Linked DNA regions of Homo sapiens: all the other regions are linked to region 1. The links are contacts of gene promoters, found by promoter capture Hi-C in blood cells and fetal thymus (Javierre and others, 2016). All regions are on one chromosome and are shown on one strand. Each heading gives the region's core, a stretch centred on a gene start or on the middle of the fragment in contact. The rest is flanking DNA. Distances are from core to core; before and after follow the strand shown.

The links. Contacts are between HindIII fragments. The CHiCAGO score rates a contact against its expected background, and 5 or more counts as called.
Region 2: a fragment that was not itself captured here is called in contact with the fragment with the promoter of CPVL-AS1 in region 1 in 1 of 17 cell types (megakaryocytes); the score reaches 5.5 in megakaryocytes.
Region 3: a contact is called between a fragment that was not itself captured here and the fragment with the promoter of CPVL-AS1 in region 1, in 1 of 17 cell types (endothelial precursors). The highest score is 5.0, in endothelial precursors.

What each region holds. Positions count from the first base shown.
Region 1 is chr7:29,077,598-29,082,321 of GRCh38, forward strand. CPVL-AS1 (CPVL antisense RNA 1) reads left to right here and starts at 2,687. Exons shown (of 3, transcript XR_001744918.2): 1 at 2,687-2,731; 2 at 3,744-3,881. All of the region lies in intron 7 of CPVL (carboxypeptidase vitellogenic like), which reads right to left. The HindIII fragment of the contact is 9,422 bases long and covers 1,093-4,724 here.
Region 2 is chr7:29,407,593-29,412,316 of GRCh38, forward strand. The region is part of intron 6 of CHN2 (chimerin 2); the gene reads left to right. Among named protein-coding and RNA genes, the nearest start is that of PRR15-DT, 150 kb to the right of the region's middle. The HindIII fragment of the contact is 5,269 bases long and covers 1-4,444 here.
Region 3 is chr7:29,389,389-29,394,112 of GRCh38, forward strand. It overlaps CHN2 (chimerin 2), which reads left to right. Exons shown (of 13, transcript NM_004067.4): 4 at 4,291-4,322. Among named protein-coding and RNA genes, the nearest start is that of PRR15-DT, 170 kb to the right of the region's middle. The HindIII fragment of the contact is 1,342 bases long and covers 1,585-2,926 here.

The DNA of each region.
Region 1 (4,724 bases), core at 1,437-3,936:
AAATCCTTCTTTGAAGAATTCACTACTGGGCTGGTGAGAGCTCCTTTGTATCCCCAGAAGGCATCAAGGCGCACTGCCCTTCTGGAATCAGTCATATCATTCCCTTGTTCTCCAGCTCATCCCAGGCACAGACTACAATAGAGCTGCCACCCATTTATGGGAGAAGACCAGAGGGAAGAAGACAGCTTCAATGCCTCACAGAGAACTTTATACACACACTGAACACCCCAGGAAAGCCACAAAACCTGGTGAAAACCTCGGTGTAATGGGCACCATGAGGGCAAGACTAGGCTAGGGCGACCTACCTTGGCTTCATCTAGCCTAGGGTAGAATCTTACTTCCTCAGTACCATTATTTTCTCTGAAGAGAGAAGTGTGGCCTTAAAATGGCCAGTTTAGAAAATTAATGAATGAGGAAAGCTGGAATTTCAGTGTTGTGGTAATCGCTATAACTTCCTAGACATTTCCAGACCATGCGTCATCTAATTTCAAGACCATACTGCTGCAATTAAAAAAAAGAGCCTTCCAACAAGAATATGACTTTATCAAAGTATCTATTTCTTTTTTAATATGGGCTTAAAAAGAAACTTGCAAAATCTACAGGCATAGACATATAGCAAAAACATTTTGATCTATAGCCAATTTTTAGTCACATAAACTTATGCAAAAATACATGCTGCTTCCCAAATGATATATTCTTATTTTCTATTGAGAAGATACTCCTTAAAAAAGAAAAAGCCATCATTGACAGGCATAGGTGAACAAGATGCATCCTTTTCCCACCTACTCTGAGTTCAGTGCCAGTTTGGAGAAATCCAGCGTGAAGCCAGGTGACTCAATGAGATGAATAAACCCTTTTGTTTAAAATGGAGACTACAGTTAATTTGACTTTTAAATAAAGAGTCTGAACACACTGGGCCGCAGTCAACAAACTGAATCTTTGTTTGCTCACTGTAGATACAATTCAGAAGGATGAAGCTGCATAATGGATGTAACTTAGCATTTCTCATTCTCAACCTAAACATCTCATCTAATCAGGTACTATTTATGTCTCTATGCTGCCTGCTCCAGCATGGTAATTCATTTCCAACAAAGCTTATAATGACTTCTGATTTACTCATATTCTTTTCTGTGCAACCTCAGTACATATGTATCGATTTGATTTGGATATGCTGTCCAAAAGCCAGAGATCCAACTTGCAAACATTTCCATATGCCCTTGTTCAGTTCTTCGGTTGCAGCTTAAACCCTGATTTTTGTAATATTAAAATCATTAAATAGTCACAAATCCATTTTCAATTCAAAAAGAAAATATTGGCAAGTGCAGATGAACATAACTGAAAATAGAGATTTGTCATAGGTTCAAGAGTTAAAACAGCTTGAATGCTATCTAATAAAATTCAGCAAGTTCCAAGCCTTGAGAAATAATTGCATTCCAAAGACTTCAAGTCCTTATATCACTTGAAACTTCCACTTACTCTATAAAACTTAATGATCAAAGCCAAGTCTTTATGATTAAAACAGTCTTGGCCAGAAAGACAGAGACATTCAAGAAGCTAGAGAACTTCTTTTCTGTTTGTGTAAGGTTAATAACCTTAGAGATTCAGCATAAAATATGGAAGGGGATGTTTGACTCCCCTTCAGACACAAAGTGAATCTGAAGCAGGTCCTAGAGACAGTGCAAGTTCAAGGTGAGAGCACCCAGTTTGGTGAACAAGCATTTTGGTGAACAAGGCTGCACCACTAGCTCATTTCTTCACCACCATCTTCAGGCCCTGGAGTCTGACTGCTTAGGTTCCAATGCTGGCTCCTCCACTTTCTGGCTGGGTGACCTTGGTAAGGCATACCTAACCTCACTAAGCCTCGGTCACCTCACCTGTAAAATGGGAAGAATAATCATAGCACCTATTTCATAAGGCAGCTGTTAGGATTAAACGAGGTAATGCATAAAACAGTGCTTAGCATGATGTCTACCATACAGTCCATTCTCAATAAATATTCTCTAGTAAAATCTACAGATAAAATACATGAACTAGATGTTCTTGAAGTATCACTTCTAGCCATCAAATTACATGATCCCAAGCCCAGGCTAACAGGATGATGGTACAGGCTTACATAGAATGCTAATAATTATAAGCCTACTTCTAGAATCGCTCTCCCACCCCACCTTGGTTGCCACCCTTCTGTTTGCATGTTAGTGCTTGAAATTACCCTATTACAAATATCTACCCATCAGGTAGGCTCTGCTCTCTACTCAAATGCAAACATGTTGAGAGTCCACCCTATTGGGTTTAATTTATCAGATCCTTTCTATGGAACAATGAGTTGACAACAAGTCAGAATGGGGGACAGAAACAGAACAATCATGATACAGATGGAAGAAGCATGGAGAAATAGAAGCTGTGCACAATAGACTGAGGAGAGGATGGCTGAGGTGGGAAGATGGCCCTGGAAAACAACGGAGGCCAAAGGAGAGTCCCCAGGGCCTGGGACATAGTACAGGGAGAGAAGGGCAATGAAAGGGAGGCGAGAGGAGCAGAAAAGATCACTATTGGGTACTGAGCTTAATACCTGGGTGATGTAATAATATGTACAACAAACCCCTATGACACGTGTTTGTCTATGTAACAAACCTTCACATGTACACCCAAACCTAAAATAAAAATTTTAAAAAAAGAAAGGGGCTGGGCGCAGTGGCTTACATCTGTAATCTCAGCACTTTGGGAGACTGAGGTAGGCAGATCACCCAGTCAGGAGTTCAAGGCCAGCCTGTCCAACATAGTGAAACCCCATCTCTACTAAAAATACAAAAATTAGGCGGGCATGGTGGCACGTGCCTGTAATCCCAGCTACTCGGGAGGCTGAGGCAGGAGAATCACCTGAACCCGGGAATTGGAGGGTGCAGTGAGCTGAGATGGCAATGCTGCACTCCAGCTTAGGCATCAGAGTGACACTTTGTCTCAAAAAAAAAAAAAAAAAAAAGTAGGTGAAAAGATGCAGGAAATAAATATCAATATTTTTATTTTATCTAAAGGCAGCCATGCATGAACTCCATTCTATAATATTCATTAAGCACCGTGCTTAGTATTGAATAAGAAACAAACATGGCTCTCGCATACTGGGAGCTTGCCACCTAACCCAATGGGCCATGATGATTTCAATAAAGGTTGTCAGACACTGTACTTCCAACAGGGACTTCACCCATGCAGATGAAGATAAAGTGTCCCATTAAGCTCCCTAATTCATTTTTAAATAGCTTCAAAGTTTTGTCTCTATTGGGTTCTCAAATAAATTATGGTTGCAAAACTGTTTATAAAGAGAGTCTGCCCGTTTTTGCTGATGGAGAAGAGATGTTCTGTTTTAACCACATGCCCTGCTAGTTTGGAAGCGTTCCCATCCACTGCCACAACCTCCCACGTGCACTGACTCTTTCCCTTGAGCGGCACATAAAGCCACAGGCTCAGAGAACAATGGGCGGTCCCCCTGATCCTGTCACCTACCTGCCTTCCCGTGAGGGCTGTTTTGCTTTAACTTCTACCTGGGCTCATGTACAATTGAGAGGATGCTAAATGTGTCCGTGCCTCAAGAACAAGGGCAATCTCACTAATAGCTACTGGCTCAGAAAGGATAACACTTATAAAGAAAGTTAATTATGGGAATTAAACACAGCTTATTTCTCTTTTTGAAGTATGTTTTTTTCATGCCTTGAGGAGGGTGATTTACAGACACATTTGTCTCTTTTTAGAGAAAATTAATTCCAGTTGGTGTTCTGGGCAGAAATGAAGAGGAGGAGGAAGAAGACAAAGCAGCTTCTCCCCTTTCCTTTGCACTGAGGGCAGGCCCACGCCACTTTCTCTGGTGTGGCCACACCATCGTCCACACGGTGAGGCAGGGAGCCTGGGGTGGGTCCTGACACATTTTGCTGCTGTCCATATAAAAAACAAGCACAACTTCTAATGTCAACTGCTAAGCTCCATTTTTTTTTAGACAAAGTAACTATTGCTTTTAAAAATGATTTCAAAATAATAGACACAGAGTAGAGGGGGAAATGCCATATCCCAGCAATGAGTTAGCGGAGCTTCTATTAACACTTCAGCTCTTGTCTCCAGGCATTAGGCTGTATGCTTGGGAGTCATAATATATTAGCCCAGCTTTTCAGCATGAATGGTAATAATAGTCATCATGTGTTGGGTACTCACCACAGCCAGTCACTATGCTAATATCTGAGGAGGGTTATCTAATTAAATGCTCAAAACAACCCTATGCAGTAGGTACTATTATTATTTCCAGACTGCTTCACACCAAATCAAGGTTCTGAACAGCTGCTCCAGACCCCTTGAGCATCAGGCTCCTCTCATTCATAGCACACAAATGTGAAGATATTTAGGTCTGGTGCATTTACATTGAAAAGCAGAAAACCATTTCTGAATTTGTGCATTTATTTTTTGAAGATGGCTCTACAAACTCAGCAGCACTATTCAGCTTTCCTAAGAGTGTGAGAAAATTAAGAGTTTAGAAGAGAAAGGAATTTTCTTTCTTGAAAAATCTAGAACAATTTTTTTTTGTGTGGTGGCAGCAGCGAGAGGGAAAATGGGTAGGTATTACGTTAAAACTGCAATTACATACAGATACTTAAAGAGTGAGTCTAGATAACTGAATTTGAACTTTCTAGTAAAGCAAAATATCCCTGGAAGTGATCTAGTTTAACAACTCATCTGATTGTTAG
Region 2 (4,724 bases), core at 560-3,059, 330 kb after region 1:
AAGGGTAAATGAAGATGAGCATAACTTAGCTATTATAGTAGGTGACAGGTACCCTGATGATGCTGACCAGCCGACTTGCTGCCCTTGCACGCAGTCATAAAATGGGGTGGGATAGGATGCAGTGAGAATGGATTTAACTTAGATTACATCCGCTCATGAGACTGGGTTTTGCCAAGCATTGTTTTAAACCAGAATTCCCTAATGATTTGGGATTTATCACTCAGTCTGAGCAATTGCTGATTTGGTTGGCTTGGTGGTTCTCAAACTGACTGAAGGTTGGACTCACTCTGGGAGCTTTTAAAAAAATGCCCATGGCCGGGCTTGGTGGCTCATGCCTGTAATCCCAGCACTTTGGGTGGCAGAGGCTGGCGGATCACTTGAGGTCAGGAGTTCAAGACCAGCCTGGCCAACATGGTGAAACCCCATCTCTACTAAAAATACAAAAAAATTAGCCAGGCACTGTGGCACATGCCTGTAATCCCAGCTACTCTGGAGGCTGAGACAGGAGAATCACCCGAACTCAGAAGGCGGAGGTTGTAGTGAGCCCAGATCACACCACTGCACTCCAGCCTGGACGGCGGAGTGAGACTCAGTATCAAAAAAAAAAAATAAATTAAATTAAAAAATATATATTAAAAATGCCCATGTTTGACCCCACCTGCCTATGGAATCAAAGTCTTCACTGGTGAAAGGCACCTGTCGGTCTTTTTTGGCTCCTCAGGTGATTGTCAAGTGCAGGGCTTGAGAACCTGGGTTAGATGGAAGGGGAGACGAGAGTAAAGGTGATCAGACATTTTGGAGCATTTTCTTTCAAGGACACCTGTCTCACTTCTTCCCATGCCTCTTATATTCCTGAGGCTCTTTTATGTTGTAAATTAGACCCTAGCCTTCTTTCTCTACTTTTACACAACACGTGAGAAGTCCTCTGGGGAAACATTCTTCACACAGTTAACTCTGGTGGCTACAGTTACCTGTGCTGGTTCAGGGTTTGGCTTTGCTCCCTTTCCATGACTCCTTTCCCGAGATTATTGCCTGAAATATAAATGATGGGAAACAATTAACTGAAGTGGGATTAAAGAATTTAATGAAGGGGCAAGGAAAAGTTAGTCCCTCTCTCAGGGGTCAGCTAGTGGTTTCTTTGGGTGGATATTAGAAAGAATCTCTTTTTACCAGTTCCTCAATATCGGTGTTTTCAAAGAGGAACGGAAGAGGAAAGTCATCCTAATACATTCAGCGTATGGAGGGATATGATGGGCCAAACGCCAAACCCTCCTTGTCCCCATCCAAAATCTCTCTAGGAAACAGCTAATTTAGAGACACGGCTCCCGAGAAAGTATTTTCTATGCAAATAGTGCCATCTTGTGGCTGAAAGGAGAGTTACATGCTGATGACACAAAGGACCAAACCTAACGGATGTGAAAATGTGCAAGAACAAATTTTTCAGCAATGAATCCATTGAGTCATCCCACTTTCCTCAAGTTTTATAGCACAGATCAGGCTACACAGTGGCTTGGGGTGTCTGTTCTGTAGCCTGTGCTCCTTCTCTGCATAAGCACGTGGGCAGCTCTGCGGGCCTAGGACTTGTAAAAATCATCCCAGGAATCTAATTCTAGTCCAAAAGTGCTCAAACTTCTCGGCCTCAGGACCCCTCTATACTCTTTAAAGTTACTGAGGACCCCAAAGAGCTTCTGTTAATGTGGGTTAAATCTTGATATTTATGGTATTAGAAAGTAAAATAGAAAAATCTAAAATATTTATTAATTCTTTCAACATAATAGTAATAAACCTATTATGTGTTAGTATGAATAACATATTTTTGTGAAAAATAACACTGTTTTCCAAATAAAAAAGTGATGAGAATATTGGCATTGTTTTTACATTTTTGTAAATCTCTTTAGTGTCTGGCTTAAAAGAAGACAGCTGGCTTCTCACATCTGCTCCTGTATTCAACCTGGGATATATTGTTTTATTTGAAGTATAGGAAGAAGTCTGGCCTCACACAGATGTGTAGTTGGAAAAAAGAGGAGTGTTCTTATAGCCTTTTCAGGTAAATGTGGGCTTTAAAATATATACTAGACCACAATTCAACAAGTGGTAGTTTCTTAAAGGTTAGTTGCAATGTCAATCACAGAAGGCAATTACTGTAATAAAATCAGTTTTGACATCATGGACTCTCTAAAGGGATCTTGGGGATCCCCAAACATTGGTGGGCCACAGTTTGATGAAGAGCCCAGCTTTTCAAGATGTTTATATTTTGACATCTCCAGAGTGGTGTTTGAGAGGAATTGTCCCACCACTTTTATCACCTTTGACTGCAGGAGGTAAATGATGCTGTCACCTGGGACTGCTGTACACCTATGGGGACTGGGCAGGCTATGATGAGGAGGCATTCTTCTGGACCTGACCCACCAAGCGCCTGCCCTGAGCACGACCTCAGAGCTCTTCCCAGTGGCTCTCACTAGGCGGTGGGGGGACAACAGGCTGAGTCTATATGAGTTTTAATTTTAGGGATCCCTCTGGGGTTGTTGAATGTTTTTAATTTCATCGAGGCTTTTTAATCATGGGACTTTTAAATAATTTATTCTGGAAGAAAATTTTTATAATGTTTAAAACAGGGTAGTGTCTTGTTTATATTTTAGTTGGGCTTAATCGTAGGAACAGTGTTGGTAGATTTAGGGTGATTACTTTCATTTTTAAGGTGAAATTGAGCTGTTTTTGTCTTTTTAGTAATTATATGGTGGTTTTTGGCTGTGAGTAAAATATTAATGTTTGTTTATTAGTCTAGGTGGGATGATATGTTAAAAAGATAAAAGACAATAATTTGGATAAGTATTTAGGGTTCTCTTGATTAAAGGTTTTTTTTTAATTAAATAGGTTTGAGGTGAGAAATGGAGAGTATATTTGCATTATGTCTGTGGGTCATCTATTGGCACTTAGTTTTTTAATTGGTAAGCGTTGAAATAGAGACTCTTGTTTGAGGAGTCTTAGCCCCTCACCTAAATTGGGTATTTTGTTGAGTATGGGATGTGAGATTATACTTGACTTTTTTGATTTGTTTTTCTAATTAGGGGAGTTTGTCTTTTTTTGTATTTTTGTTTTTGAAGAAACTGGAGGGAAAAAGTTATAGGAGTTGATGAAAAAGTTGAAGGAGAGTGTTATTATTTTAGACCTTTGTAAGGGGAGAAAAAGTTGAAAGTAGTGAGACATAGTAAAAGTTGAACTTTTGATTTATAAATTTGAGAAGTTTTTAAAGAATGACTGTTACATATAATGCTCTAGTTATTTAAAATATTATCTAAAACTTTAAAAACACAGACTTTCCTCCTCAAATCCCTAAACTCTCCTCCCTTACTCCCTAGCCACATTAAAAATTCCCCATTTCTACTTTTTATTAAAACAAATTTTTAAAATCTTGCCTTCCCCACCTTCTTACTTTAATCAGATCAAATAAACATTTCTCTATCTCCAAACACCTGTGTATCACTATTTAACATCAACTACACACCAAGTACACAAACCTAAATTTAGACTTCAACACAAGCCTAGGGCCTGTGTCATCAGGAAACAGTTCTGCAGGTGCAATTCTGATATATATGGCCAATGAGGAGCCACCGACTGGGTCTCATTCTCTTCTCCGTACAGAGGAAATACCAAGACTCAAAGCTCAAAGTGACATTGAACAAGGAGGGTTGGAAGGAGGAAACACAATTTTAGCAGAGCCTATTATTTTCCTTCTTTGGCCTCGTACTGGGTATCACCCTCTTTGTTACCTCTCCTGGGCTTCTCCAGCTACCATCTTTGTGTCTATTTCATCAGGATGTGGCAGTCTCCCCACCCCACCCCCAGAGTGAGTAGCTGTCATTTTTGCCACCCAGAGCCACCTCAGTGTAGGAGCTTCTGGTGGAGTCATATCTGCCCACTAATCCCAGAGGTGGATTTGTGATTCAAGGCCAAGCCGAAGGACCCCGTGTCCCTGGCTAGGGTGGTTGGTTCAAGGGTGACCATGTGGTCAAGTCAGAGCCAGGGGAAGACAACAGACTTTTACCGTGAGTTCCAGGAGCCAGGCCTTTCACCCTCTTTCTGCTTGGCTCAATTAGGCAGGAAGTAGAGCCTGGGCTGCTGAAGGCTTCCCGCCACCCGATAGAGCCTGAGAATGGAGCCTGGAGAAAGTAGAGCCTGGAGATGGGGAGAGAGAAGCTGAGTCCTGAGGCCTGATCTGAGCTTCTCGCGGAGCTGCCCTTCAGCCCGCCCCCGTCTCTGGATGTTCCAGTACTGCTGGCAGTTCATTGCTGCCTTGCCTTTGAGCTGGGTAAGCAGATGTTGGTGCTGCATTTAAGTCGGCAGCTGCTATCATCCCCACAAGAACTGGAACCCACCTGTCAGCTCCCTGCCACCTCTGCTGTCCTTCATTCCCACTCACCTTACTTGTCACCATTACTGAGGAAGCTTAGCTATTCAAGTTCAGGTTCATTTTAATTTTAATCCAATAATCCACACTACCCTTCTTTAAAATGGTGGTGTTAAATCAGAAAAAGGGGACCTCTAGTGTTTACTGAAATGGGTAGGAATGTAGCATCTTGTTTACCAGGCAGACATGGGAAATAACCCAGAAGCCACTGCTGGAATGCAGCCGTCATCCTTTACCTCCTGGCTCCACAACATATATATATGTAGACCTCTTACAGTTAAATGCATTTCAGTAAGATTAAGGCGCTCTGCTAAAG
Region 3 (4,724 bases), core at 1,006-3,505, 310 kb after region 1:
CTACATACAGTGATTCTGACTTTAGTATATGCTTTAAAATCATCTAGGGGGCTTGATTAAATTACACGTCATACCTCTACCCTCAGTAATTTTGGTTCAGCTGGTTCGAGATGGGGATGCTGTCTGCAGTCTTCAACAAGCATCTTGAAGTTTCTGTTTTGAATGACCAGTCCACACTGGTCATTTTGAGAAGTGTACCTTTAAGGATATTCACAAGAAAGGGTGGTATATATTAAGGTAGTTCCAAAACAGAAATTCCAAAAATGTTCTGGTCAACAGGGATATAAGTGGCATGTATTGTGCCTCCTTGGGGTGACTATTCTCTTGTAGATGATGCTTATTTAGAATAAAATGTTCAGTTTTATTTTTAAAAAGAATCAGCCGGCCAGGCACGGTGGCTCATGCCTGTAATCCTAGCACTTTGGGAGGCTGAGTTGGGCAGATTGCCTGAGCTCAGGAGTTCGAGACCAGCCTGGGCAACATGGTGAAACCCCCGTCTCTACTAAAATACAAAAATTAGCCAGGCACGGTGGTATGCGCCTGTAATCCCAGCTACTCAGGAGGCTGAGACAGGAGAATCATTTGAATCCGGGAGGTGGAGGTTGTAGTGAGCTGAGATTGCCCCACTGCACTCCAGCCTGGGCAACAGAGCGAGACACTGTCTCAAAAAAAAAAAAAAAAAGAATCAGCCACCATTCTGCATGGTCACACCATATACAGTGAAACCCTCTGTGCCTTGGGAAGGACCCATTTCATGTGTTTTCTCACTCAATGACCTCCTACTTGGTGCTCTCCCTCTGTAAAGAGAGGTGTTCCTTTTTGAGCCAGCTGGATCATCTAAGGACCCAGTATTAGAAGAACTAGTAATCCGTGTAACACGACTACATATTTTCTTTCTCTTAAAAAGAATGAGCTGCTTTCACTTCTTGGAGTCAGAGCACTAAATCCCAAGAGCAGACATGGCCGATCCGACAGCCGTCAGTCCTACTCACAAAGGCCAGGTTCACCAGGTGATGGATTGACCAGCTGCAGCTGCTGTCCTAGGATAGTCACAGTGGCAGGGAAGCTCCAGAACCAGTCTTCATTCTTGTCATGATATATTGCATTTTCCATTCCTTTCTGAATCCATGTGACTGCCTAAATTTTTTTATTAAGTTGCCTGATTTTAACAAACATAGTTTTCAATGAGAATGCAAGAAGAATTTCTGAGTTGCCTTACTTTTTATTTATCAACTATCCTGTCGCCTTCACACCTACTGAAGAGAATCTCATACAATTGGAAACAGAAATTGAGTTACAGTTTCTTTAATTAAATTCAGTTTCACAGGTGGGTCCTGGTTTCCACTGATGGCCAACACGGAGCCTTGCCCAGGGAGTGAGTCAGGCTTCTCTAAGGCACTGCTGGGGGCACAGCACGGAGGTTCTTAGTCTCTTGGCAGACCTTTGTCCCTGGGAGCCCTAGCCCCCAGCCACCTATTCTTTCTGGATCTGAGGATCCAGTATTATCCACCTTGAAGAAATGTAGACGTTGTATGATTTGTATAGCACCATTTAACTTAAACATTAAGCTCTTTACTGGTTTAAAGCTTAGTGAAGTATAGAAATAGAGACTGTGTTTAGACTCCTGTGAGTAAAAAGTTTACAAAAAGAAGAGGATTTTGTTTTTTTGATCCCAGCCTCTCTCTCTCTCTTTGACATTAACAAGGACACATATATTTTCTTTACGAGCTTCAGAGACAAAAAAGGAAGGAGAGATTGGATTGCTATCAAAATGGCCCTCAACCAGTAGAAGCAGTTATCAGATGGCCAACCACATCCTCTATCTTTACTCTCTCTTACTTCTGTCTTTCCTATCCCCTACATAGGGTTGCCAGATTTAGGAAAGAAAGAGAGAGTGGGGAAGAGAGGGAGAAAAGGAGAGAGGGAGGGAGGTAGGAAGGGAAGGGAAGAGGAAGGGAGGGGAGGGGAGGGGAGGGGAAGGGAGGGTAGAAGGGAGGAAGGGAGGGGAGAAGAGAGGAAGGGAGAGAGGGAAGGAGGGACCAGGATGCCTAGTTAAATTTAAATTTCAGATATACAAGGAATCATGTATTAGTATATATCTCATGCAATATTTGGGACGTATTCCATGGCCCTCTTCCATGCCTGTCCCACACAATTCAGGGCTCTTCTTTTATTTTCTAGTGGTTTTCATTTTCAGAAGATTTGTCCCTCAATTGGATCAAACTCTCTTCTGGGCAGAATCTTATCTGGCATCTTTCAAGGCACCCTAAATATCAGCTTCCCTCTTTGGGGGTCTATGTTAGATTTCTCCTTAAGCGTTTCCCTCTGCTGCAAGTGCAGAACACCCCTGAGCGCCTCATACCTTTCCTCTCTGCACCTGCAAGGTCATTACTTCATGCACATGGCTGGCCTGAGCCTAGAGCCCAGAACATAAGGGTGCTGTGTATTTTTATCATTGGTTGATGAACTGAAAGCAATTTGTTGTCTTGTTAAGAATCAATTAAATTCAGCATCTATTAACTGTTTACCTGCATGCCAAGAGTTAGTAGTATTACCATGTGGCTCATCTGGGAAGTTAGATTAGTAACTCTTTCTCTTTTAGGGAAATAAGAAGATACAGGAAGGGAATAGGGTTGAGAGCTACACCCAGATTTTGCAAACTTGTGCTACGGTTCAGCCAAAAAGATGGAAATTTAAAAATCGTCCTCATATGTAGAGAATCACTTCAAATTTTGGAATATCGCCTCTCAAAGAATGGAGATTTTGCCATTATATATCCTCAACTTTCATTGGCTTTTCTAGTTCTAAATTTCTTCTCTGGCATGTTGGTTTTACAGTCACATGTCTATAATATTATAAAACTAAAAAAGAACTTTGAAAGCCGAAAGACTGATATAAATGACAACATATTCAATTCTCATTAAAAAGCTTACCAGCCTGTAGAATAATGGCACACATCATTTATAGAAAGGATATCAGATAACCAGGTGCCTTTTTACACACTTTCTGCTTCTATTAATGATATTATTTAAATCTTCCTTCACAAATGACACCGAGCAGGCTTTGAACCTTGAAGATTAAGTTATGGATGTCCTGCTTGGTTGAGTAATTCTCAGGTGTAAAATGCACAGGAGAGTGAACACATATTTAGAAGTGTCTAGATGATAAGTTTTGTACCAGCGAGGCTTGTCCTAGGCAGCATTGTGAGTGTGGTCCCCAAAGCCCCAGCTCCGCCTTTCTGAGCCTCTTCCCCTAGCTCCTAGTGTCCTGTTACCTATTCAGATCTGCATCCCTTGGAGGATGGAGCTAGGCCAGGAAACTGCCCCATATCATGAAATCCTGCTACTGTGCCTGTCTCTGAGCCCTGCTGTGAAAACTGTCCATTTGACTCTAGGAAGAAATGACTGTGAATAAAACAGCTGCCAAGCTCGTATCCTACAACAGTGAATAAACATAAACTTGCTGTCATACATAGAACCATTCATAAAAACCCATAACTTAATGTGGCTCTACAATGTTTTGAGTGTCCCTGGAGTTAGGAGAGAAGAACAAAGGCCGAGCATGAGAAATCATGTCACTTTCTCACCAACTCCAACATCATAAACATGTGAAAACAAAGCTCTTATGAAAGCAGATGATCATGTATGTGAGAAAAATCAGATGTGATAACCTCAAGGCTAAAGCTGTGATTGAAAGATCCTTTCTGGAATGTTTGTGTTTTAGTCAAGTCATAAATCTTGTCCCCTGTAGCCTGCACCTCTGGTGTCAAATGAATTTCAGCCCATTAGCCACATGTTGAAAAAATAAGAATGTTAAAATATTGATTTTATTTAGAACATGATCAAGTTAAGTCTGCTTTATTTTTTAATCCAGGTAGACTTCTTGTTTTAATTATAAATACATAATAAAAACAATTAGGCACAGAGTAAAATAAATGCTTATGTTTTATTCATGACAGAGTAGTTGTTTTATCCTTCAGGATGAAGCCTTATAATATCCTTACAAATTCCTTAATATTAAAATAAGCATCGCTTTGTTTTTGTTGAAAATTCTCTTATTGGATGATTGGGTTTGGGTGGGAAATGAGCCTAATGATTGATTCTAGGTCATTCCTACCTGATACTGGAATGTGCTGATTATAACTCCATAGCTTCATGGATCTCTGATTTGGAGGATACAATCTGTAATAAAATTACTACCAGGACCCTAGTTCTGTTTATTTGAATAGCATTTTTATCTAGCTGATTTGAATTCAAATGCATTATTAATTTTTTTTTCTTTTTAATATAGGTGGAAAACAGACCAAAATATTATGGAAGAGAGTATGTATTATACTATTCTTTGTTTTAATAATTTAATAAGTAGTCATTTCATGTGTCATTTAAATATTACAAATTTTCTAATATATGGTCATCATCATATGTCTATTGTGCAAGAGTTTAATGATAATAAATGCAATCAGACTCCTTTGAATTAATATTTTTTATAGTAGTCAAGTGCTTGGTTTCCATTAATGTGGGAGGTAGAGCATTTTGCGCTACTTTTCCCTCCACAAAAGAGCTACTGAGTGCCTGGCAAGTACTTGAAACGGAAGGCAGCATTTTTCATAATGGAGGCTCTCTGTTAGTGTTTCATTTCACTTTCTACCTCAACACAATAGAAACGTTTGGTGTGTCCAAGATGGTACACTGTATGTGAGTTCCTGACTTTCGTGTACCTCGGTG